Regions from separate parts of the Homo sapiens genome. Here all the other regions are linked to region 6. Evidence: promoter capture Hi-C in 16 types of primary human blood cells and fetal thymus (Javierre and others, 2016). All regions are on one chromosome and are shown on one strand. Each heading gives the region's core, a stretch centred on a gene start or on the middle of the fragment in contact. The rest is flanking DNA. Distances are from core to core; before and after follow the strand shown.

Region 1 (3,802 bases), core at 525-3,024, 490 kb before region 6:
ACAAAAATGGTAAGTATATCACTGTTGGTGAGGATGTAAATTAGTACAACCTCTACAAAAAAACAGTATGGAGATATCTCCAAGAACTAAGAAGGGAACTACCATTCAATCTAGCTATCCCACTACTGTATATCTATCCAAAGGAAAAGAAATCATTGTATAAAAAAGACACCTGCACACATATGTTTGTCACAGCATTATGTGCAATAGCAAAGACATGGAACCAACCTAAGTGTCCACCAACAGTTGATTGGATAAAGAAAATGTGGTGGCGATACACCATGGAATACTACACAGTCACAATAAAGAACAAAATAATGTCATTTGCAGCAACATGGATGCAGCTGAAGGCCATTATCCTAAGTGAACCAACACAGAAGCAGAATATCAAATAGTGCATGTTCTCACTTACAAGGGGAAGCTAAACAAATGGCACACATGGACATAAAGATGGGGCAAATAGACTCTGGGGACTCCAAAGGAGGGAGAGTGGGAGAGGAGGAAGGGGTGAAAAATTACCTACTGGGTACAATGTTCAATATTTTGGTGATGTGTACACTAGAAGCCCAGTCCTCACCATTACACATTTAATTCCCATGTAACAAACATACACATGTACTACTTGAATCTAAAATAAAAATTTTTTAAAAAGTAGGCCGGGTGCGGTGGCTCATGCCTGTAATCCCAGCCCTTTGGGAGGCCGAGGCAGGCGGATCACAAGGTCAGGAGTTTGAGACCAGCCTGACCAACATGGTGAAACCCCATCTCTATTAAAAATACAAAAATTAGCCTAGCATGGTGGCGCATGCCTGTAATCCCAGCTACTCAGGAGGCTGTGGCAGGAGAATTGCTTGAACCCGGCAGGGGGAGGTTGTAGTGAGCCAAGATTGCGGCACTGCACTCCAGTCTGGGCAACAGAGCGAGACTCTGTCTCAAAATAATAATAATAAGTACGTGAGATAATTATATTTAAATTAGCTTGACTTGGTCATTTCACAATACATACAGATATCAAAACATCATGCTGTACACCATAAATATATACAATTTTGTCAATCATACCTTAATAAACCTGAGGGTGAAGAAGCACATGTTAATGTCATAAATTGCATCTTTAATATTTTGATATCTGCATTTGAATGCATTTATGTTTTTTTCAGCCTGTGGTGTAACCATAGCTCATTGCAGCCTCCACTCCCGGGGCTCAAGCGATGGCAGGGGAGTAATCAGCCTCCCAAGTAGATGGGACCACAGGTGCACAGCAACATGACCAGCTAATTTTTAAATGTTTTGTAGAGGCAGTGGGGAGGAGTGGGATGGGATGGGGGGCTGGTCTTCCAATGTTCTTCAGACTGGCTCAAACTCCTAGCCTCAAGCAATCCTGCCACCTCAGCCTCCCAAAGTGCTGTAACTACAGGCTTACACAATTGGTTTTGATTGTAATCCTATGTATTTTATTTTGGGTATTAAAAGCATGACTCTGAAATGGGTTCACCAGTTGGCCAAAGGGGACCATGGCAAAAATAAAGTATAAGAATTTCTGAGTTAGTGCAAGTTCAGACAGGAAAAAGTGAATATCCTGGGGTATAATTACTTCTGGGATGTAAACACCTGAGTAGGATCTTTCAAATAATAACTAATCACTCCTGAGTATGTATTCCTGATTAGAATAATTCGGATGTTAACTAACCACCCCCAGAGTGTGGATTAAAACTAATTAACAATGAATTGTAAAAATTGTTTATCAGTATGAATAAACATTACCGGTTTCTCCTCCACTTCAAAGTATATACTAAATCCACCCCTTCTTCCTACCTCCACTGTCCCCAGCCTAGGCTGGTATTTCAAAAGATCATTTCATAGACAGACACAATATTTTGTTAAATAATTAATTCATGAATCCAAAATGTCATAGGTTGTAAGACTCATCATTCTTTTCTGCACCCAGAAAGAAAATTTGCTGTTAATTAAATTATGACATATTATTAATGGTAAAATTCATCCTAATTTCAGAGGTGATTAAAAGTGAAAAAGATATGCATTTTAGAATAGATGAAATAAGGTATATCACACAGCTGGTACTGAAGCATTTTGAAGCAAATTATGAACAGTATACATTGCACATATACAGTATAGCATGGTAAGGAGTTTGGATTTGATTTTCTTCACACTTAGGTAAAGTCGACATTTCCGTTCTGAAGCCTGCTGACCTGCCACAAGATGGCGAGAGCTCCAAGGAGACACAGGGAGAGGCAGCAAATGGAAGTGAAGGCCAGCACCACAGGTGAAAGATCAACAACAAAAACAATGATGGGTCTGTCTTGCGGGGCCTCCATTGGGTCTATTTCAATGTTGGTAATAATGAATAGAAAGCAAGCACTTCAGAGAAGCAGAAAGATGAACATCTGATGTTCCATTCTGCCTTGTGTATACTGGGGTATACCCTCCAGACACAGGTTCATGGGCGAGATCACTTGGTTAGTGTAGACAGCTGACAATGTAGACTCATTAGCAATCAGGCTGTCAGGGCTGTTTAACATGTTTCAGAACCTTCCTCAGCCACAGGCAGCCAGGCAAACTTGAGAAGTGGCTCATAACAAGACAAGGCTTGCCACAAAGGGTTGCTCATTCCTGCTAGGCAACCCATTTGTTTTAAGCACAGGGTATGTAATAGGAAAAATAATAGGATGTGAGCTGTGGTGTATTTCTGTGGGATGAGTGGTGAGGGAGGTGAAGTCTCTCCCAGGCCATAAAACTCAGAGTTACCAATTTGGTCCACACTGGCTCTGTGGAAAGATATAAAAAGACCTGGATTCCCTCACACATTGCTGCTGGGAATGCAAAATTGTATAGCCCATTTGGAGGGGAACTTGTTAATACATAGAGCAATCTCACTTCCTGGAATCTATTCCAAAGACATACTGGAAAAAAATGCAGAATGACATATGCCCAGTGCTATTTATTGGCATTATTTATAATATTAAAAGACTGAAAAAACCCAATATAACCACATAATGGAGTAATACACAGTTGTAAAAAGGAAAATAATTCTCATATATTCACATGGAATGATCTCTGGATGTATGAAGTGAAAAAAATCAAGGTAAAGAACAGTTTTTATCATGTATCATCTTTGTGTACAAAAAGGGAAATACACACATACATGTGTGGTTATACATATATTTGCTTATATTTTTAAATAAGAAACATTAAAAGTATGAACCACAATCTTACAAAACTGGGGGAAGGAGGGAACAGGATGAAGTAATAGGAACGGAAGCTAAATTTCTCTGGATGTATCTTGTTAACTAGTTTCATCTTTGGAAGCATAATTAAAAATAAAATTAAGTGACCAGGCACAGCGGCTCACGCCTGTAATACCAGCATTTTAGGAGACTGTGGCAGGAGGATTGTTTGAGCCCGGGAGTTTGAGGCTGCAGTGAGCCGTGATTGTGCCACTGTACTCCAGCCTGGGAGACAGAGTGACACCCTATGTAAAAAAATTATTAGAAAAAATTTTTAATAATATTAACTCAAAGGGAAAATAAGAATCAATCCCAAAAAACTAAAAACAAACTGAAACAAATGAACTTCACTGTTTATCAAGTTGGTGGCATAATCATACAAATAGAATACCTTCAAATTACTTTAAAACAATATTTTGACCGTACATCCCTAATGATATATGATCTAAGGACAAAATGAAGCACAAAGAAATCTTAAACTGCTTTCCATAGTCTTAATGTTAATAGTAATATTGGTATTGTTATTTTTAAATTATTATTGGTTTGTTTAGAATTAA
Region 2 (3,565 bases), core at 380-2,879, 270 kb after region 6:
GTGGGCCGGAGGTGTCTGGAAAGCAGTCTGCGAGTTAACAAGGCGGTTTAATACCAGATTCTCTCAGGGTCCGCCCCCTCCCCCCCACCTCCCGTGAAGCCCAGACAGCGCCAAACCCGCCACCTCTCCAACAGCAGCTGGTACACCCATTTCCCAGCACTCCCAAATCACAGAGGGTCGGCTGGGGGATGGGAGGGTGCCGGGGCGGTGGTGGGGAAAGTCAGGGTGGGAGTGTGCCGCCCAGATTGTTACCAAATTGCATGCCCCACCCCCGCCTCCTGGTTACCCTTTCCCAACCTCCCTGCTGGCCTTCTATGCGCTGCCACGTTTATTTCTCTTCCCTCCTCCTCTCAAAACAGGACGGAATGTGGGGTGCGGGCCTGAATATTATAAACAAAACCAAAAAACACTGGCTGGAAAGGAAGTAAGCGGATTCTTCGTAAAGTCTATCAAAAGTCTTTTCGTTTCCCCCTCCCCCTTTCCCCACCGCCCACCAAAATGAGCCGCGTTTGAGCACCTCAGGTCTGGAAAGCCGGCCAGGAGTGGGGGAGACCGAGGCACCCGCGGCCTCCGACTCCCGCATCCCTAGATTACCCCTATTCAGGGGTCCCAGACTGTGCCCACCCTCACACCCACCTGCCCGAATCTGGGGGAATTTTCTCCTCCTCCTCCTCGCCTGGGTTAAACGCACGGCAGCGAGCTGCGCAATAGAGTTGGTACCCAGAGGAGGACGGAGAACGACGGTCAGGGCTTTAAGTACCTTTGCCCACGTCAGCTCCTGGTCACGTGAGGGCTGCATCGCCAGTAAGCTTGGGTCCCCAATTTCCACTCCCACCAAGAGTACGAGCCCCCTCCTTTACTTCCATTCCCATCTCACCCCACCACATCAGGTCCTGTCACTCATTTTTTTGTCTTTGTAGTCCTGGAGGCCTAAAGTAGCCCCTTCTCCCTGCTTTCACAATTTGCCTTTCTCTGGTTACCTGGGAGGGGCTGCATCTTCTCGGAGGGCTACTGAAAATTTTTACTTTTTTGTTGGGGAATTGTTTCATCCTTTCCTGGGCTACTGGACACTCTTCCATCTCTCCACCTCTAGTTCCTCAGCCCCTAGTCCCCAGGATTTTCCTTGCAGTTGACTCCCTGTTCCAGTATAGTTAAGGGGCAGAGTGTCAGAAAGGAGACAAGGAGTGGGAGTGGGGTCTGTACTTCTCAAATACTTCTGTTTTGTTTTCAAAACTATCATCATGCTTTATTTTTATAGTAAGAAAATTCAGTAAAACAAGAATTCAATGTGGGAAGTAGCAACAAAAAAAGGGTGGGCATGTTTTGTAAAGAAAAAAGGTTTCCTGCGTCCATTGGAAAGCACCATTAATTTTGGTTAATTTTTACCGAATAGAACATGAATTCTTTTGGTCACATAGGAAATAGTTTTTAAAATATGCTAAGGTATTTGAACATCTAAAATGGAATATTTCTCAATAAGATAAGCATATTTCCATGTGATCTGTAAATTGATCCACAGAGAGATGTTCAGTTCTTCAATCTTGTTTATTTTGGACAAATAATACGCTACTTTTTTCTCCTTCTGGGACAGCTTTTAAGTTGCATAAATAAATGATCCTGTCTTGTCCTGTTAGAGAAACACATTTATTTAATATTCCCAAACCATTGCTGACTGCTGTGTGTGAACCTCCTGTAATTTGATGGCTGTAACCATGACAGTTTTAAACACCTGTCTTCGGATTAGGTTCCAGTTAATGATTCAACTCTGGGCAAAAGGAAGAGCTGTGAGGCCAAGGAAACTGAGTGTGGTGGGTGCAGAGTGGTCAAATCCTCCCTGCCCTGTCAGGAGGAGGAGGGAGATGCTGTCTCTCTACTCCCTCCCATATGCCAGAGCCGCTCATCTCCTGCATTCAGGTACCTGGCTCAGTTGCTCACACCCAAAATATATCCAGACAAGTGACCAAGATGCAGACCTGGTTAAATGTCTTTGGCTCTTTCCGTCCCTCCCCCAAGTTCCCAGAGGAAACCCATTGATGCATAGAAAGGATTGCTGTTCTTACCTGACCCTGCAGCTGACGATTTGTGAAACCTGTGATTTCACAAAAAGGTTTTTGTGATCACACAAAAAGTGATTGTTGGGGGAAGTTCCCAGGCCTGACTGCTGTCTGTCCTTATTCGTGGTTACCAGTGAACCTTGCTCCAAACACTGTCTGCTACTACCACTTGGCCTAAGAGATGCATCCTCCTGGGCCTCTCACTTCTGCCTCCTTAGCTCCAGGGGACCTAGGAAGAGTCTAGCCTTCCTGCAAGGTTACTGCCTGCCAGTACACATCCACCTTGGTGCCCTCTCAACCAAATGTATGCCCAGGGAACAATCCCCACTGATGAACCCAGAGTAGGTGTTCTCACCCGGTCAACTCTGTAGACCACCTGAAATTGCATTCACCTGCAAAGCTTTGTTTGGGATTATATGTGTGGTTAAATGCATTTTTTTCAGGAACAGAGATCACTGACCTCATCAGTTTCTCAAGGGGTCTGTAACCCCCGCCCTGCAAAAAATTAAGAGCTAATACAATGGCCAAGAGGGTCTGTGTTATATATATATAATAGTCCAGATTAGGAATCTTGTATTTTGTTCTGGTAATACAAGTATTATATATTAGTGGTTAAAAATATTCAAAACAATAAGGAAATATATAAAGTATACAGGGAAAGAAACTTTTGTTATCTTTTCCACTCCCAGCCACTGTCAACAGTTTCCAACTTTCTTTTTAGACACATTAGTAGTGCGTTTGTGCTTATTAATCAAGTTCCAAATTTTTGTGATCTGTTTTATTAATTCTAATTTAAAGTGATACCTTTGGTTTATCTTGGTATTATATATAATCATTTGTAAATGATGATTTTTCATTTCTTCCTTTCCAACATTTATGCCCCCTTTTCTTTCTTCTTCTGCATGAGTCATTCTTGGTTAAATTAGACATAAACGAAAATATCCTTAACCTGATGAAGAATATATCAGAAGTTCTTCTGATCTGGCAGATTCGTCCCTCCCTGTGGTCTACCAAGATCACAGAACTTAATGACTGGCATTGACTAGAACTTCCTTACGAGCCTCCTGATCTTGTTCTTGAAGACAGTGGGAATGCCTCTTTTGTTTCATTATTTAGTATAACTTTTGTTGTTTGTGATTGATGTATTTTTTTTTCAAGGCTAATTTCACTTATGTTTACTAGTCCCTCTCTTTCTCTCTGTCGCACGTGCACACACACACGTAGTACAAAGAAATACTATCAGTGAATGGAGGCAAGTCATTAAGTTCTGTAATCTTGATAGTCCAGAGAAAGGGATGAATCTGCCAGATCAGAAGAGCTCCTGATATCTTCTTCATCAGGTTAAGGATATTTTCTTTTATATCTAATTTAATTCATCTAAGAACGACTCATTAAATTACGTATAATTCTTTACTACATAAATGAAGTTCCCTCTTATTCCTATTTTACTTTTTTTTTAAATTAGGAATGGTTACTTATTTTATCAAATGCTTTCATTATGAGGTTTCTTT
Region 3 (3,629 bases), core at 168-2,667, 330 kb before region 6:
TCGAACCCAGGTGGTGGAGGTTGCAGTGAGCTGAGATCATGCCATTGCATTCCAGCCTGGGCAAAAAGAGTGAAACTCCGTTTCAAAAAAAAAAAATAGTGAACGTACATTTAATGATATTTAATTTTTATGCTTAATAGTAATTGTGCTCAAGTGGAAAACACTTTGTAGTCAACATTTCATGTATTAATATTTATTCAAAGCATAACATGCCTATTATGTGCAAGGCAATGTGTTAGCCTTAGTGAGTACAGTAGTAAATTAAACAAGGCCCAATACTTCAAATAGCAGCAAACATTGAGTCAGTCAGAATAGGATTCAAAGCCCAGATCTGCCACTTATTTTCTATTTTTCTGTTTTTTGAGACAGAGTTTTGCTCTTGTTGCCCAGGCTAGAGTGCAATGGTGTGATCTCGGCTCACCGCAACCTCCGCCTCCCAGGTTCAAGCGATTCTCCTGCCTCAGCCTCCCGAGTAGCTGGGATTACAGGAGTGCACCATCACGCCCAGCTAATTTTTGTATTTTTAGTAGAGATGGAGTTTCACCACGTCGGTCAGGCTGGTCTCGATCTCCTGACCTCAGGTGATCCGCCTGCCTCGGCCTCCCAAAGTGCTGGGATTACAGGCATAAGCCACCACCCCCAGCAGATCTGCCACTGATAAGCTGTGTCCACTGAGCAAGTTATTTAATTACTCAGTGCTTCAGTTTCATCATCTGAAAAAAAATGTCCACAATAATTTTACCTACCTCATACGGTTGTGACAACGATTAAATGAGTTAATACACACAAAGTGCTTAGAATACAGTAAGTACACAAAGTTAGCTATTATCATTCAAAATAAGTTGATATACTGTGTGTTCATACATTCTGAAGAAAATAAAAATATTTTACCCCAAAATAAATGTATTTGCCATATGTTTGAAATGGCTGCCTCAGGACCAGAGGACTGAGATGGGGGAAATTTGCATCTGTAGAGAACCTCCTTGAATACAGCCAAGCTTCCCATTTCTATGCCTTACCTGGATCCAGGAGAGATTGAGAGTCTGACATCTTTAAAAGTTTGAAAAGAAGCATTTACCAGCTATTCTTTCGGAAGGAGGCTTCCTCTACATGACAAGGCCACCTTCACAAACCAAGTCTCTTCCTTTCTTCCATAACCTATCTTGCCACTAAAACCTGTTTTTGTATATACTCTGAGTTCGTCCACATTCTTTCTGTAATTTCTTACTTTTTTTTTTTGAGGTGGAGTCTCGCTCTGTCACCCAGGCTGGAGTGCAGTGGCGCGATCTCGGCTCACTGTTGCAAGCTCCGCCTCCCGGGTTCATGCCATTCTCCTGCCTCAGCCTCCCAAGTAGCTGGGACTACAGGCGCCCGCCACCACGCCTGGCTAATTTTTTGTATTTTTAGTAGTGACGGCGTTTCACCGTGTTAGCCAGGATGGTCTTGATCTCCCAACCTCGTGATCCACCCGCCTCGGCTTCCAAAAGTCCTGGGATTACAGCCGTGAGCCACCACGCCCGGCTTTTTTTTTTTTTGAGATGGAGTCTCGCTCTGTCACCCAGGCTGGAGTGCAGTGGCGCGATCTCGGCTCACTGCAACCTCTGCCTCCCGGGTTCGAGCGATTCTCCTGCCTCAGCCTCCCTAGTAGCTGGACTACAGGCTTGCACCACCACGCCCAGCTAATTTTTGTATTTTTAGTAGAGACGGGGTTTCAACATGTTGGCCAGGATGGTCTCGATCTCTTGACCTCGTGATCTGCCCGCCTCGGCCTCCCAAAGTGCTGGGATTACAGGCATGAGCCACGCCTGGTCTCTTTCTGTAATTTCAAGATGATATATAAGCTTCTGTTAATTATTGGGAGGTTGGGTCTCCATGATGAAGGCTCCCATGTGTACATGTTAAATAAATTTGTATGCCTTTTCTCCTATGAATCAGCCTCATATCAGTGATATTTTAGTGAACCTTCAGGGGCCAATGACTTTGGCCCCCACAACACACACACACACACACACACACACACACACACACACAAACACACACGTGTATGTTTCTTGTTTTTTAAAGAGAGATTTCACTTCCATCCTAAACCCTTGAGGAGGTAAATGTTTGACTCAAATTGCCACTATCCTAACTGCTCTCATGGCTCATAAGCAAAATTTGAACTCAAACCACTGCTTCAGCCTTCTAGGCCCATGCAGGGCTATCAAGTGAGACCAGGCCAGAGAATTTACCTTTGGCTCTATTTTCCCTTTCTCATCTTTTAATCCCCTCTTATATGGCTAGACAGCTCTACACCTTTTATCACCTCCTCTTCCCCTTTCTTCCCCTTCCCAAGCCCTTCTGCTCCTTTATCACTTCTCGTTTTGGCCTTCTGTGTTGTGCCTAGCACAGAATCAGGTGTCCCATACGAGCTCAATAAATATTAATATTTGATTAATTAAACTGAATTCCATCTTGTCTGCTGAAAGAGAGAAGGCATTTCCTCCCTCACCCCCACCTATTTTGAGCATCCAGGCAAATTCATTTAAAGCAGGCCTGTCATTCAAGGAGGAAAACCCTGAGGGGTAGAGAGAGAAAAGAGATTAAAGCAGCTATAATGTAATTATTTAGCCATTAACCCCTTTATATTTATTTAATCTGGTAAAGCATATTCTACTATAAAAGCGAAATCATTACATTTGTAAGAGGGGAAAGAAATACCCCGTATTATAGGAAAGGTTAGACCCTTCAACCAGAAAGTCAGTAAGTGGATATGTCATAGATGATAAGGAATATTGTTAACTCAAATAAGAGCTGGAACCAAGATAACCTTTTACTTAATTTTGTTATTAGCAAACCAAATCACAACAAAGTGAAATCCCTAGGAATTTGTCAAACATTCTCATTTTGGTGCAAGGAAAAGATAGCTGAGAGGCTACAGCATTCGCTCTCAGAAATAACATATTAAAATTTACCAAGCAGGAGCATCGCCATCTTGGACAAGCACCACAATTCTAAAGTTCTCCTTGATCAAAAACCACCTAAGGCCGGGTAAGGAGGCTCATGCCTGTAATCCCAGCACTTTGGGAGGCTGAGGCGGGCAGTATCACCTGAGGTCAGGAGTTCAAGACCAGCCTGGCCAACATGGTGAAACCCCGTCTCTACTAAAAATACAAAAAGTAGCTGGGCGTGGTGGTGCATGCCTGTAATCCCCGCTATTCAGGAGCTGAAACAGGAGAATTGCTTTTTTTTCTTCTTTTTTTCTTTTCTTTTCCTTTTTTTTTTTTTTTTTTTTTTTTTTTGAGATGGAGTTTCACTCTTGTTGCCCAGGCTGGAGTGCAATGGTGTGAATTCAGCTCACTGCAACCTCCGCCTCCTGGGTTCAAGCAATTCTCCTGCTTCATCCTCCCAAGTAGCTGGGATTACAGGGACCTGCCACCACACCTGGCTAATTTTTTGTATTTTTAGTAGAGACAGGGTTTTGCCATGCTGGCCAGGCTGGTCTTGAACTTCTGACCTCAGGCGATCCACTCACCTCGGCCTCCCAAAGTGCTAGGATCACAGGCATGATCCACCGCACCTGGCCAAGAATTGCTTGAACGCAGGAGGCAGAGGTTGCAGTAGGCTGAGATCGCGTCATTGCACTCCTG
Region 4 (3,784 bases), core at 39-2,538, 380 kb after region 6:
TCTTTTCTGTGAACATGGGATATTTTTCCATTTTTTTGTGAATTGACACTTTTGAGAGTAAAAGGTGGTCTGTGAAACAACAGACATAAATTGAAACCACATCAAGCCATATGCTCATCTTCTTATATATTATGAACATTAACTCAATGTCTGTAATACACGTGCATCATTTTTTCCCATTTTATATTTCTTTTTATCAGCTTTTGCAATGCAAATGTTTCAAATTTTCATTTTATTATTAAAAGACAATGTGGTTAATTATAAATGTTTGAAGAATACACTAGAGTGGAGTAATTTGCCAGTCTAATGTGAGATAGACACAGAGAGCATTCAAAGCCCATAAGGCCACAAGATGCAGTGAGAAAAGCTTGGGTTTTAGAAAAATTTCAGGCTTAGACTACCTGGTCTGTAATTTAGGATATTAATGACCTAGGTGGTTTGAGCTCTAGGTAAGAATGAAGATAGTAATCTTTACTTTGAATGTTTGTTTTTGGGATTAAAGGAGATGAGATATAAAGTTACCACGATGTAGAATGATTTTCTTGTTCATTTCCATCCAGCAGATCACCTCTCCAGTCTTTTAAAGCCTGAGCTTCTGCCTGAGCCCACTCACCACTTCAGGGATCTGCCAACTCATGTGGCCCTACACCCAGGTCTCTTTGCGCAAAGGGCAGGATTTCAACTCCTCTATCTTCTTCATCACCCAAAGGGATTGTGGAGTGCAGATTTGTGGGTCCACAATAGCAGGGGAGTGGAATCTGACCATTTCTCAAGCCCTGGAAGCCCATCTTCTAAGAAGGAGGCTGCTCAGGGTTTTCTAGGGAGGGTGAGGGATGCAACTGCATTCCTGCCTCTTACCAGATGTGTGACTCTGGAAAATCGATTTATACTCTGTGAGCCTGAACTTCTCCACTGCAAAATGGGAAACAATTGATACTGTCCCCACAGAATTGTGTAGGGAAAATGAGGGAACTTAAGGAAATGTTTGGTGCATAATATAACTTCAGCAAATGTTTGTTCTGCTCACCATGACTCCTCACCACGATAAAAGAGACTTCGACATAAAAGAAAGAGCAGAACTGTCAGAGCATTTGGAAATGTAGCAACAAGAAAGGAAATGTATAGGCATTTACATAATGTATGAATTTGGGTGCCATCTCAGTTGTAGAATGTTATCAGAAGAATTTGGAGAAAGGGAAGACAATATTGTACTATTTCCTTGTATTCTATTGAATTTCTGTCCCTGTTACTTCACTTTCTACTTGAACATCTGAAGAAATAGTTTTCCAGTAAGTTCTGGAAAAAGGAGACAGTACAGGGGAACCAAATATAATAAGGACCATTGGATCTTAGATGAGTCACTTCCTCTGTGCTGGCCTCATCTCTAACACCAAGTCACATGCAATATAACTGGTTAGGGGGTTTGGGCTTTGGGTGCTATTGTTTTCTGGTTGCATGACCTTTAGCAAATTTTTTAACCTCTCTGAGACCCATTTAAAAATATTTCAAATGGCTGTTATAATGGCAACAACATCATTAGGCTGTACTGAAAATTAAGTGAGAACATGCATGTACAGCATTTAGTAAAGTGTCTGGCACTAAGTAATCAATAAATGTTATCATCATGTTCCTTTATTATTGGCTTTTTCAAGACCATCAGAAGAATAATAAAGGGTTTGGGGCTGGGAAGAATGTAGTGTTTCACCTTAGATGACAGGTTCTATTACGCTGCAGCATTAAAAGGGTTCAGTGGTGGTGCAAGAACTGACATACATATTAATGGGACAGAATAGAAAAATAAGAAGCAGAACCAAGTGTACAGAGACATTGAGAATTTCATAAATGTGGCATTTGCTGTTACTTAATAATTCATAGACGCTAAGAATTGATGTTGGGTCATTTTAAACTGTTCACTAACAAAAGAATGGGAAATCTTATTCTCATGCCATATGATATAATGTGAAGCATTAGTACACACCACCACCTATCTATCCAGTATGATTGCAGTTCCATAAAATGGGTATGCAGCTGTACACATATTTGCATGTATGTGTATATTTCTAGTTTCAATGAGATTCAAGAAACTATGAACACTGTTTATCAATGAGAGTATGATTGGAAGTTACTTGTATCTTTTTATACCTGTCTGTACTTTTGATAATATCCTAAATGGGCATGGATTATTTTTACAAACAGAAACAAAGCCTGTAAAAGCTTTTAGTAGCTAGGGAACACAAGGGAGTGTGATAGGTTGGAAAGAGAAAATGTTTTGGGGCTATACATACCTTGTGTTCTCCTCTGGCTTTGCCCATTGCTAGGGGGTGACCAAAAGGTAAGGTACTTAACTCTTCTGATTTCCCATTTTCTTGTTCTAAAGAGGAGGAAAGTAATCCTTTCATTGCAGAGTTCTTGAAGTAATCTGATGGAATTATCAAAATATAGATAAATATGCTGTGCTTTATATTAAACTGTACTGGAGATTCCATCCCAGCTCTTACCCCTACAAGTTTCTTCACCCTCTGAACTTCAGTTTCCTTATCTTGGAATTGGTTATAACATTGATCTTGAAATAGTATGTATATTAGCTGTCCAACACAGTGCCATAATAGGCACAACTCCCCCTATTCCAGGTAACTATTTCCAAGAACATTATATATCCTAGTAATATAAAAGAAAGAGGTGATTTTTTTTTATGACTGGGGGCCTAAGAATTGGTGGTAATTCTTATTTTCTTCAAATAATCTTATTTTTTCCATTTAATTAAGTATTTTATATCCTGAGGAGCCTTGATCCAGCCATTCTGTTCTGAGGAATTTATCTTACAACAAAACATGTTTCAAGAATTTCCTATTTGAAACCATGGTACAACCATGGTGATTGTGCATATATTTTTGGAACTTTTGTAAGATTTTCCATAGGATAAATTCCTGAAAGTAAAAAATTTTAACCAAAACATATGGCATTGCCAAATGCAGATTTAAAATGTTCAATACCAATTTCTAATCCCATGCACAGTGGTGGTATTTCCTTTCCCTGAATTCATCTCATCAGTTAAAAAGGGGCTTAGGCACTTTGACACTGCAATTCCTGTTGCAGAAATTTGTCCTGCAGGACAGTCTGTACAGAGCTATATATTGCAAGGCTTGGAGTTTACCCTGTGGTTGAAGCACAGGGACCAAGGAAAAAAAGTGTTGAAGATCACTGAAGTGAAATAGTTCAAGTGATGAGTCATGCACTCTAGGCTGGATCGGGAAGGAGCGTGCACATTTTAGGGGCCTGATACACTGAAAGGCTCAGGGGTTGGGTTCCATGGTTCTTTCCTCCCCTGTTCTCGTCTCCTCCCACTGGAACTCTGCGCACTCCTCTGTGTCAGGCCCTGGGATTGCTGCTATACACAGTTTTACCTCCCTTAATCCTCACAACATTTTCAGCTCCATTCTCTAGATGAGAAAACTGAGGCTCTGACAGGTATTCATCGAATCTAAGACGCCACACTATTTTAGGGACTACTAGGAAAAGCAAAATTCTGGCTATTATAATGGTAAGACAGCACTAATTTAGGTGTTAAAAGTGAAAAAATATATGCCTCTGAGACACGGGGAAATGTTATAGCTTGTGTAGCTTGCATCTATTACATGAAAAAATTGAGGTTGGAGTCTATTTCCTTCTGGTATCAGATGTTATGCTGTTGCCATAATTTAGGACCACAGTGGTAAATTAGACTTGTACCAATCAGGTAATGCCCTCTTCTCTTATTGTCCTATTGGGTTTTTTATATTTATTG
Region 5 (3,855 bases), core at 951-3,450, 420 kb after region 6:
GTCCCTGGCCTGTGTTTTACAGACTTGGCACTAAGGGTAACTTACTTAGCCTCTTAAGTCTTGGCTTTCCTCATTTCTCGTAAGCGATCCTTATTACCTACCTTGAATTTATTATCATATTTAGAAGAGATACAATATAAAATTCCTTAGATGTAACTCAAGCTTTGATAAACAAGAATTTCCTTCCTCCATGTCACTTTCCCAATGTCTAAAACTTGTACTTTCATCTGATTTATTCGCTACTTCAGGAACTGCCAATCAACATGCCTCCTAGCCTAGGACAGGATTTCTTCTCCACAAACATCATCACTAAGGGGAGTTGTCTAAGTATTTTCCCATGTGGGCATGCCAAAGTTCAGCACAATACCAGAAAAGTTTACAACTATCATTTCTTACCCACATTGCATTGTAGAAGCCCACATCTACAATAGAAGCTGCTGGGTATACTCTGGGCATGTTCGGTGGCTGAATTTCATTGTTGCCACTTATCTGGATATGTGGTTTATCTTTGGCAAGCCTGGAGCTGATCATCAGTAAAATGAAAATAATGATGCTTTCTTTTCAGAGTTGTTTTAGGGAAATGAGAAACCCATGGGAGGCTTTAGTGCTTACTATCTTAGCCTCACCTTGCCTTCTCTGCAGAAGAGATGTCTGTGATAGAAACTAAATGCATAACTCTAAGAGAGAACAGTTGGGACCCTAAGTGTACAGAGGGAAATGTGATGTATTAGCCATGGTGACTGTCCAGTATTGTAGGATGAGTTACCTGAGGGGCTTTGGAAGGGAACAGAAAAATCCTCATGCCATTTCCTACCATCATATGTGCTTTCCTGTCCTTAGTACTTTGTCTTTTATGTTGTAAGGGAAGAAAGACTCTAAGAGGTGCAAGATAAAGAGATTTCCTTTGAGTCTTGGAATGAAGAAACAGTGCAGAGGAACCAATCCTAATAACAGATCTGCTGTACAGAAGGCTGCAGTCAAAGGAACTGTGTCCTGATAGCAGTCCTGTCACTTCCCCCCAAACAGATGTCTCTTCTCCAGAAATGCTACTATCTATCTTTGTGGGCATATATTAAAGTAGAGAAAAAATACTATAACAGAATACACCAAGATGTTAATTGTGTTTACCATGAAGGGGCAGGAGTGCTGGATATATTTTCTTGTCTGTATTTGACACTATTTTCCACATGGTCCAAAATGAGTGTGGATTACCTTAATAATAATAAGCAGAGCCTAAAAAAATGTACTTTAACTAATAAAGAGCACCCGGTCTGGAGATGCAGTGGAAGAAACAGGGCTTGGCCAGGTGAGATCTGGGCAGTTACTTTAGATCCCTGAGCCTCAGGGAGCCTGGAGCTTAATTCTTCACCCACAGGGCTCCCCTGGGGTGGGAGATGTGATGAAATCACCACATTGTCCACATACGGGCTCTATGCCGTTGTATTGATTAGTGACTGGTCCCTTCATGCTTTACAGAGAGTGACATTGTGGTATCCACTGCTTGAGTCTGTGGTCCCACTGCACACTATGACCCCATTTCCTTGATCCCAGCATTCTCAGCACAGTGTGATTCTCCAGGTATTATGTAAAGGATAAGGTGCTATTTTGCTTTGTTTGTGTTTGTTTTTATGATCTGCATTGGTGGATCTCAATGTTTGGTCCCCAGACCAGCAGTGTCAGTATCACCTGGGAACTTGCTAGAAAGTGCTAATTCTTAGGCTCCATCCTAGACCTACTGAATCAGAAACTCTTGTGGTTGGTACTAGCAGTCTTTTCTTTCTTTGTTGTTTGTACAAATTTATGGGGTACCTGTACTCCCCAGTTTGCCACAAGGTCCAAAGTGATTCTGATGCAAGCTGAAGTTTGAGAACCATATTCTACAAAATTTAATGTAGTAAATGAAATGTGTTAATTGCTGAGTTAAGGAATGAATCTTTATTTTATTTCCATACTTCTTCATAATCTCCATTCAAAGTACAATTTGTTCATTTTGTGAAATGAGTATTTTTTTCATTGAAAAATAAAATTGAAATTGAAAGTCAATCAATGCCATCTGTTGACCCAATCTAGAACTGCAGCTTGGATATCACTTTAGCAAGAGATCTAGGAAGGAGGGAAGGAGGGAAAGGAGGGCTGTGTAAGCCCACCAGAATAAACTTTCTGGAAGTTATACGGCAGACAAAGCACTAAGCAGAGATGGCGACAGAGCCCATGGGTATTAATTCATGTGACAGGATGTTTCCTTTGACCCCCCTCTCAAATTAAACACAGTTGAGTGAATGTGTATGTGTCGTTATAAATATAATGTGGTGTATAACCTCCTTTTTATGTTATCTGACATTTAATATCTTTTAATGTCCAGAACTATATATTTTTTCAGCATTAGTTTTGTAAATCAAACTACAACTAGGTTTATTCTATGCTGTCATAATTGTATCTCGGTTATTTTGCGAATTAAAAATCAGTGAGCTGTATGTATTCCCCCAGCTCTTGAAAACACTGGAGAAATATACAATTATAAGAGGCATTGTCTTATGTTTCCCCTATTACTATGACCTTTCTCAAGATAATAATTCAATTGATTTGTAAATATTCTCTAGATTTGTTTCTGTGGGTTCATTTATATTTTAAAATATGACATATGTGGCTGGGCGCAGTGGCTCACGCCTGAAATCCCAGCACTTTGGGAGGCCAAGGCAGGCAGAACAACTGAGGTCAGGAGTTCAAGACCAGCTTGACCAACAAGGAGAAGCCCTGTCTCTACTAAAAATACAAAATTAGCCGGGTGTGGTGGCGTGTGCCTGTAATCCCAGCTACTCGGGAGGCTGAGGCAGAAGAATTGCTTGAACCTGTGAGACAGAAGTTGCAGTGAGCCAAGATTGCGCTATTGCGCTCCAGCCTGGGCAAAAAGAGCAAAACTCCATCTCAAAAAAAAAAAATGACCTATGTATATCCTTATGGAAATATATGTCATTCAAAAATCATGCCATGTTGTATGTTATGTTCTGTAACTTGCTTATATATTTCTGCATCTCAGTGCTTTTTATTAGATTTCTTTAATTTTTGATGTGTTTAAGCAATTTTACATATGTTGATTGCCATTGCCTTCATTTTTTTCTTTAAATTACCTGTTGGTAGACATGTACACAACTCTTTTAGATAGTAGTTTTCCTTATATGTCAGGTATATTAATTATGTCTGTAAATTATAGTGCAAATGTGTCCAATGCAGAGCCCTTCCTCCAGTGTCCTAATAATGAGCAGACACTTTATGGATGCTCTCCTGGGAAGGGGAGGTCTGGCATCCATGCTGGACTTACCACTGCCGAACTGAATGGTCTCTTCTGCCTTCAGGGAGGTGACAGTACTGGCACCCACGGTTTATTTGTGAAGTCCTGGTCACTGCCCTAGGAGCATTACATCTGTGCATATTGTGACCTCTTTTCTCTGACCCTAGGCAGTTTTGTCCATCAGCTCTCTCAGCACAAAGTTTAGCCAGTTAAATAGAGTAACTCTTAATATGAATTATATATTTTAAAATAAGAAAGAAGTAAATGGCTATTTCAAGATAAGGGTAATTATTATTTATTGAAAAGAAGGTTTCATAACCAGCATTGAAAGTAGCATTTTTGAGGTTTATTCATTTTGCCAAATTAATACATCAGTATATTAACTGTCCAGTCTGCACTCCCACCCCAACCAGAAGATATTCATTATTAATAATTTGATATATATTCTGTTGACTTTTCTATGTGTCTTAATAAAATGCACAGATATTTTTCCAAATGTAAAAGTGTACTCTTTTACAAACTGTGATTGTCCTCTGCATACTGTGTTGATATTTATCTGTTTCATG
Region 6 (3,627 bases), core at 967-3,466:
TCTAGCTTCTTGCTGAGCACTGTGTCACTGAAAATTCTAGTTCTTCCTTATTTTCAGTAGTTAGCAATCAGATCTCAGCAATCAGATCATTGTGGGTGTAGAAGGGGGTATCTGATAACTCTTTGGAGAACGCCCAAACTTTGGTTTTCGAAAGCTGTATCTTCCCTTTATACCTAAGTCACTTCCTGATATGGGTCTAGTCCACTGAAAGGAAACTCTATAGGAAATTTGCTCAAATGGAAATAGCAAATCATAGTGATAATTTAAAATTGCACCAATCCCCCATAACTGGATGGAAAGTTACATTAGTTCGCACCATAAGGAGTTTACAAAGAATTCCAGGGTGGGTGCGGTGGCTCACGCCTGTAATCCTAGCACTTTGGGAGGCCCAAGCAGGCAGATCACCTGAGGTTGGGAGTTCGAGACCAGCCTGACCAACATGGAGAAACCCCGTCTCTACTAGAAATACAAAATTAGCTGGGCGTGGTGGCACATGCCTGTAATCCCAGCTACTTGGGAGGCTGAGGCAGGAGAATTGTTTGAACCCGGGAGGCGGAGGTTGCGGTGAGCTGAGATCCCGAGATCGTGCCATTGCACTCCAGCCTGGGCAGCAAGAGTGAAACTCCGTGTCAAAAAAAAAAAAAAAAAATTCCAAACAAAAATATCAATAGCCATACGCAATGGAAATTTGGACTTCAACACAAGCAAGCAGTTTAAATAGTTTGAATATAAAAGGAGTCAGAATAGACAGGACAAGCCCTAAGGGACACTGTTTGGGTATAATGCTTTAGGTTGCCATGAGTATTTGCATTTTGTGGCTTATTTGGAAAGTGACATTATTTTATCAAATAACTGAGGCTCCAGAGAGGCTGGAGTCTGGGCAACTTATCCAAGGATGTCTTGATTGGGGTCACCAATCACTTTTATTCTAAATGTCATATTATTTGCTCTAGGTAGGCCCTCTGGGGGACATTGGCAGGTCTGAGGCAGAGTAAAAATTATAGCAAATACTGAGATCCAGCACTTACTATTGCCAGGCCCTGTTTTAAAAGCTTTACATGTATTTGCACATTTACTGCTCACAACCACCTTATGGGGAAGGTGCTAGGCAGGCAGGGAGGAGGAAATGGAAAGGGAAAGGAAAAGGGAAAAGAGCGGGGGAAGAAAGGAGCAAGAAAAAGTCAATGCAATTCGGCAATTATTTGTTAAGTGCTAACTGTATGTCAGGGTCTGGTAATCAACAGAACAGAGGAGGGTATAATGAAGAGGGGATATAGGTAGAGAAAAGAGGATGAGTGGGAAGAGGAGGAGGTTGGAGAGGAGGAAAGGAAAGGAGAAATAATGAAGACAAGAGAAAAGCAAGCCATGCACATGGAGGGCAATGGTAAGAGGAGAAACCTTTGCCACAACCTCAAGGGTTGGCCGCACTGTCTGGGCTGAGGCAGAGGCTGCTTTCTCCTGGCCCAGTCTTTTACCCATTGTTACCACGAGGTTGGCACAGCTTCCACACAGTCCTTTAATAAGCCAGCTCTGACCCTGGCGACATTTGGCCTGGTACAGCTCAAGGCAGGTAGCCTACACCCTGGCCTAGCCAGGCCTTTCCCTAGCTCACAAAGGTCAACTTCATAACGTGGAGCGTGAGCTTTTACCATGTTCTCAGAGAATCTGCCTCTTAGTATTTCTTTTTCTAAAGGCTTCATTGACCCATGTATCCCTATTGAGTCTTCAAGCACTATTTGACAGAAGGGCTTGTTTTTATCTGACTGCTCCCTGCAATATTACTTTTCCACTAAGTTTGCCAGAGGTACCCCTTTCTAACATTTGCTACCTGTTCGGATGGTCACCTCATGTCACATTTTTCTCTTCCTGTTCCGCCCACCCTCAGCCCTTGTCGGAAAGGACCCTTTCGGCCTCTCTAATCACCAGAAGGGACTGCCAGGGCCTTGTGCTGATGACACTCCCACCCTCCGTCAGCCTCCTCCACTAGCTGATAAATGGCACCAGCCATGCTGTCTCTCTGGTTTTTAGGGGTCCCAAGCAAGGTACATTGCTGCTGCTGCCCAGCCCCTGCCATACCCCAGACCCACCTCAGTCCTGACTTAATGCAGGTAGCTTCCCAGATGCATTGAGATGCCAGGACTTGGAAGGTGGGACTCGATCGCAGCAGACACTGGCCCTGGAGACATATTCTTACAGTCCAGAGAGGAAGGACAGTCTGAGCAAACCCCACCCTTTCACAGCCACTCAGTTCCCTTTTTTTGCTTCCTGACCTAAACCAATGTCTTTTTTTCTTCTCAGCAGCATGCTATCTGGTTCCCTGCTGCCGTCCCTATTCCACCCCCTCAACTGTCCCCGCCCTTCATTTGCTTGGGACCTCTGACACTACTATCTTGAGTCTATCTTTGAAAGAACCTTTCTCAACATGACTGGGGCCACTGAGACTCTAGATGGGGCTGGCCTGAGCAGACAGGTCATCAAGCTATCCTCCCAGAGGTAAAGGGACAACATACCTAAAGTACTATGAAGACAGTCAGCACAGGGAGAGGGGCTTACAGGAAAGAGGAGAGATGCTGGGGGCTGGCAGACACAGAGCAAAGAGACTGGCCAGGAAGAGCGTTTTTCGAGTCTCCTGTCCTCCGGGGCAGAGGAGTCTCAGGGACACACAGTTGAACTTGATAGTGAAGGGACCCCAAAGGACAAAACAAGACAGAGGTAGAGACAAGACTTCCCCGTGCTGAGTCATTTTCTAAGAAAGCATTTTTCCCCTACAGATAAAAATGTCGGAATATAAGCCCACAGAAATACTTGTGCCCTTCCCCATTTTCTGTGGATGTTGACTTTCTCCATTTAAGATTTGGCCTCAGGGATTAACTCTCAATGTCCACCTTTCTCTTGAGTCCTGTAAACCGGTAAAGCAGACTAGGTATGTCACTTGAAGCCTGGAGGTTTTCTCAGGGGCCCCCTACATTATGCTCCAACTGCAATGATTCCCCCAGGGATTCTCCTAGGAAATGCAGCCAGTATTGAATGCAGACCATGATGGTGGAGCCCCTGCTGACTGATCTGCCTGCCCACCTTGACACCTCGGGCACTGCCATATTTCCTTGCCCCAAGGCACTGTATCCTAATGTAGAAACAGATCACAGGTCCCACTACAATTTCATCCGAAGTTTTAAGTCAACAGGACCTTATTTTTTTTTCTTTATTTTGTCTAAAAAACAAACAAACAAGCAAACAAAAAAAATGGGGTATATGTGCAGAAGGTGCAAGTTTGTTACATAGGTATATGTGTGACATGGTGATTTGCTGCACCTATTGACCCATCCTCTAAGATCCCTCCCCTCACCCCCAAGCCCCAACAGGCCCTGGGACCTTTTTTTTTTTTTTTTTTTTTTGAGACAGGGTCTTGCTCTGAAGCCCAGGTTGGAGTGCAGTGGCGTGATCATGGCTCACTGCAGCCTCCACCTCCTGGGCTCAAGTGATCCTCTCACCTCAGTCACCCTAGTACCTGGGACTATAGGCACACATCACTGTGCTGGGCTAATTTTTCTACTTTTTGTAGAGATGGGGTTTCACTATGTTGCCCAGGCTGGTCTCAAACTCCTGGGCTCAAGCGATACTCCTGCC

Evidence for each region. The method cuts DNA at HindIII sites, captures the fragments that hold promoters and counts their contacts. A CHiCAGO score of 5 or more calls a contact.
Region 1: a contact is called between a fragment that was not itself captured here and the fragment with the promoter of BTK in region 6, in 1 of 17 cell types (naive B cells). The highest score is 5.5, in naive B cells.
Region 2: a contact is called between a fragment that was not itself captured here and the fragment with the promoter of BTK in region 6, in 2 of 17 cell types (M0 macrophages and monocytes). The highest score is 6.0, in M0 macrophages.
Region 3: a contact is called between a fragment that was not itself captured here and the fragment with the promoter of BTK in region 6, in 1 of 17 cell types (total B cells). The highest score is 5.3, in total B cells.
Region 4: a fragment that was not itself captured here is called in contact with the fragment with the promoter of BTK in region 6 in 4 of 17 cell types (M0 macrophages, M2 macrophages, naive CD4 T cells and 1 more); the score reaches 6.3 in M0 macrophages.
Region 5: a contact is called between a fragment that was not itself captured here and the fragment with the promoter of BTK in region 6, in 10 of 17 cell types (monocytes, activated CD4 T cells, neutrophils and 7 more). The highest score is 9.0, in monocytes.

The regions. Positions count from the first base shown.
Region 1 is chrX:100,893,333-100,897,134 of GRCh38, forward strand. It overlaps a transcript of XKRX not described here. Among named protein-coding and RNA genes, the nearest start is that of NOX1, 21 kb to the left of the region's middle. RefSeq lists an enhancer at 2,061-2,562. The HindIII fragment of the contact is 6,104 bases long and covers 1-3,802 here.
Region 2 is chrX:101,659,122-101,662,686 of GRCh38, forward strand. It overlaps ARMCX2 (armadillo repeat containing X-linked 2), which reads right to left and starts at 729. Exons shown (of 6, transcript NM_177949.4): 1 at 637-729; 2 at 298-380; 3 at 1-27. The HindIII fragment of the contact is 1,645 bases long and covers 808-2,452 here.
Region 3 is chrX:101,052,908-101,056,536 of GRCh38, forward strand. No RefSeq gene overlaps it. Among named protein-coding and RNA genes, the nearest start is that of TRMT2B, 2.6 kb to the left of the region's middle. The HindIII fragment of the contact is 843 bases long and covers 997-1,839 here.
Region 4 is chrX:101,761,502-101,765,285 of GRCh38, forward strand. No RefSeq gene overlaps it. Among named protein-coding and RNA genes, the nearest start is that of ARMCX2, 100 kb to the left of the region's middle. The HindIII fragment of the contact is 1,847 bases long and covers 366-2,212 here.
Region 5 is chrX:101,801,598-101,805,452 of GRCh38, forward strand. No RefSeq gene overlaps it. Among named protein-coding and RNA genes, the nearest start is that of ZMAT1, 130 kb to the right of the region's middle. The HindIII fragment of the contact is 4,080 bases long and covers 161-3,855 here.
Region 6 is chrX:101,383,975-101,387,601 of GRCh38, forward strand. It overlaps BTK (Bruton tyrosine kinase), which reads right to left and starts at 2,217. Exons shown (of 19, transcript NM_000061.3): 1 at 2,088-2,217. RefSeq lists an enhancer at 1,484-1,703. The HindIII fragment of the contact is 7,609 bases long and covers 1,051-3,627 here.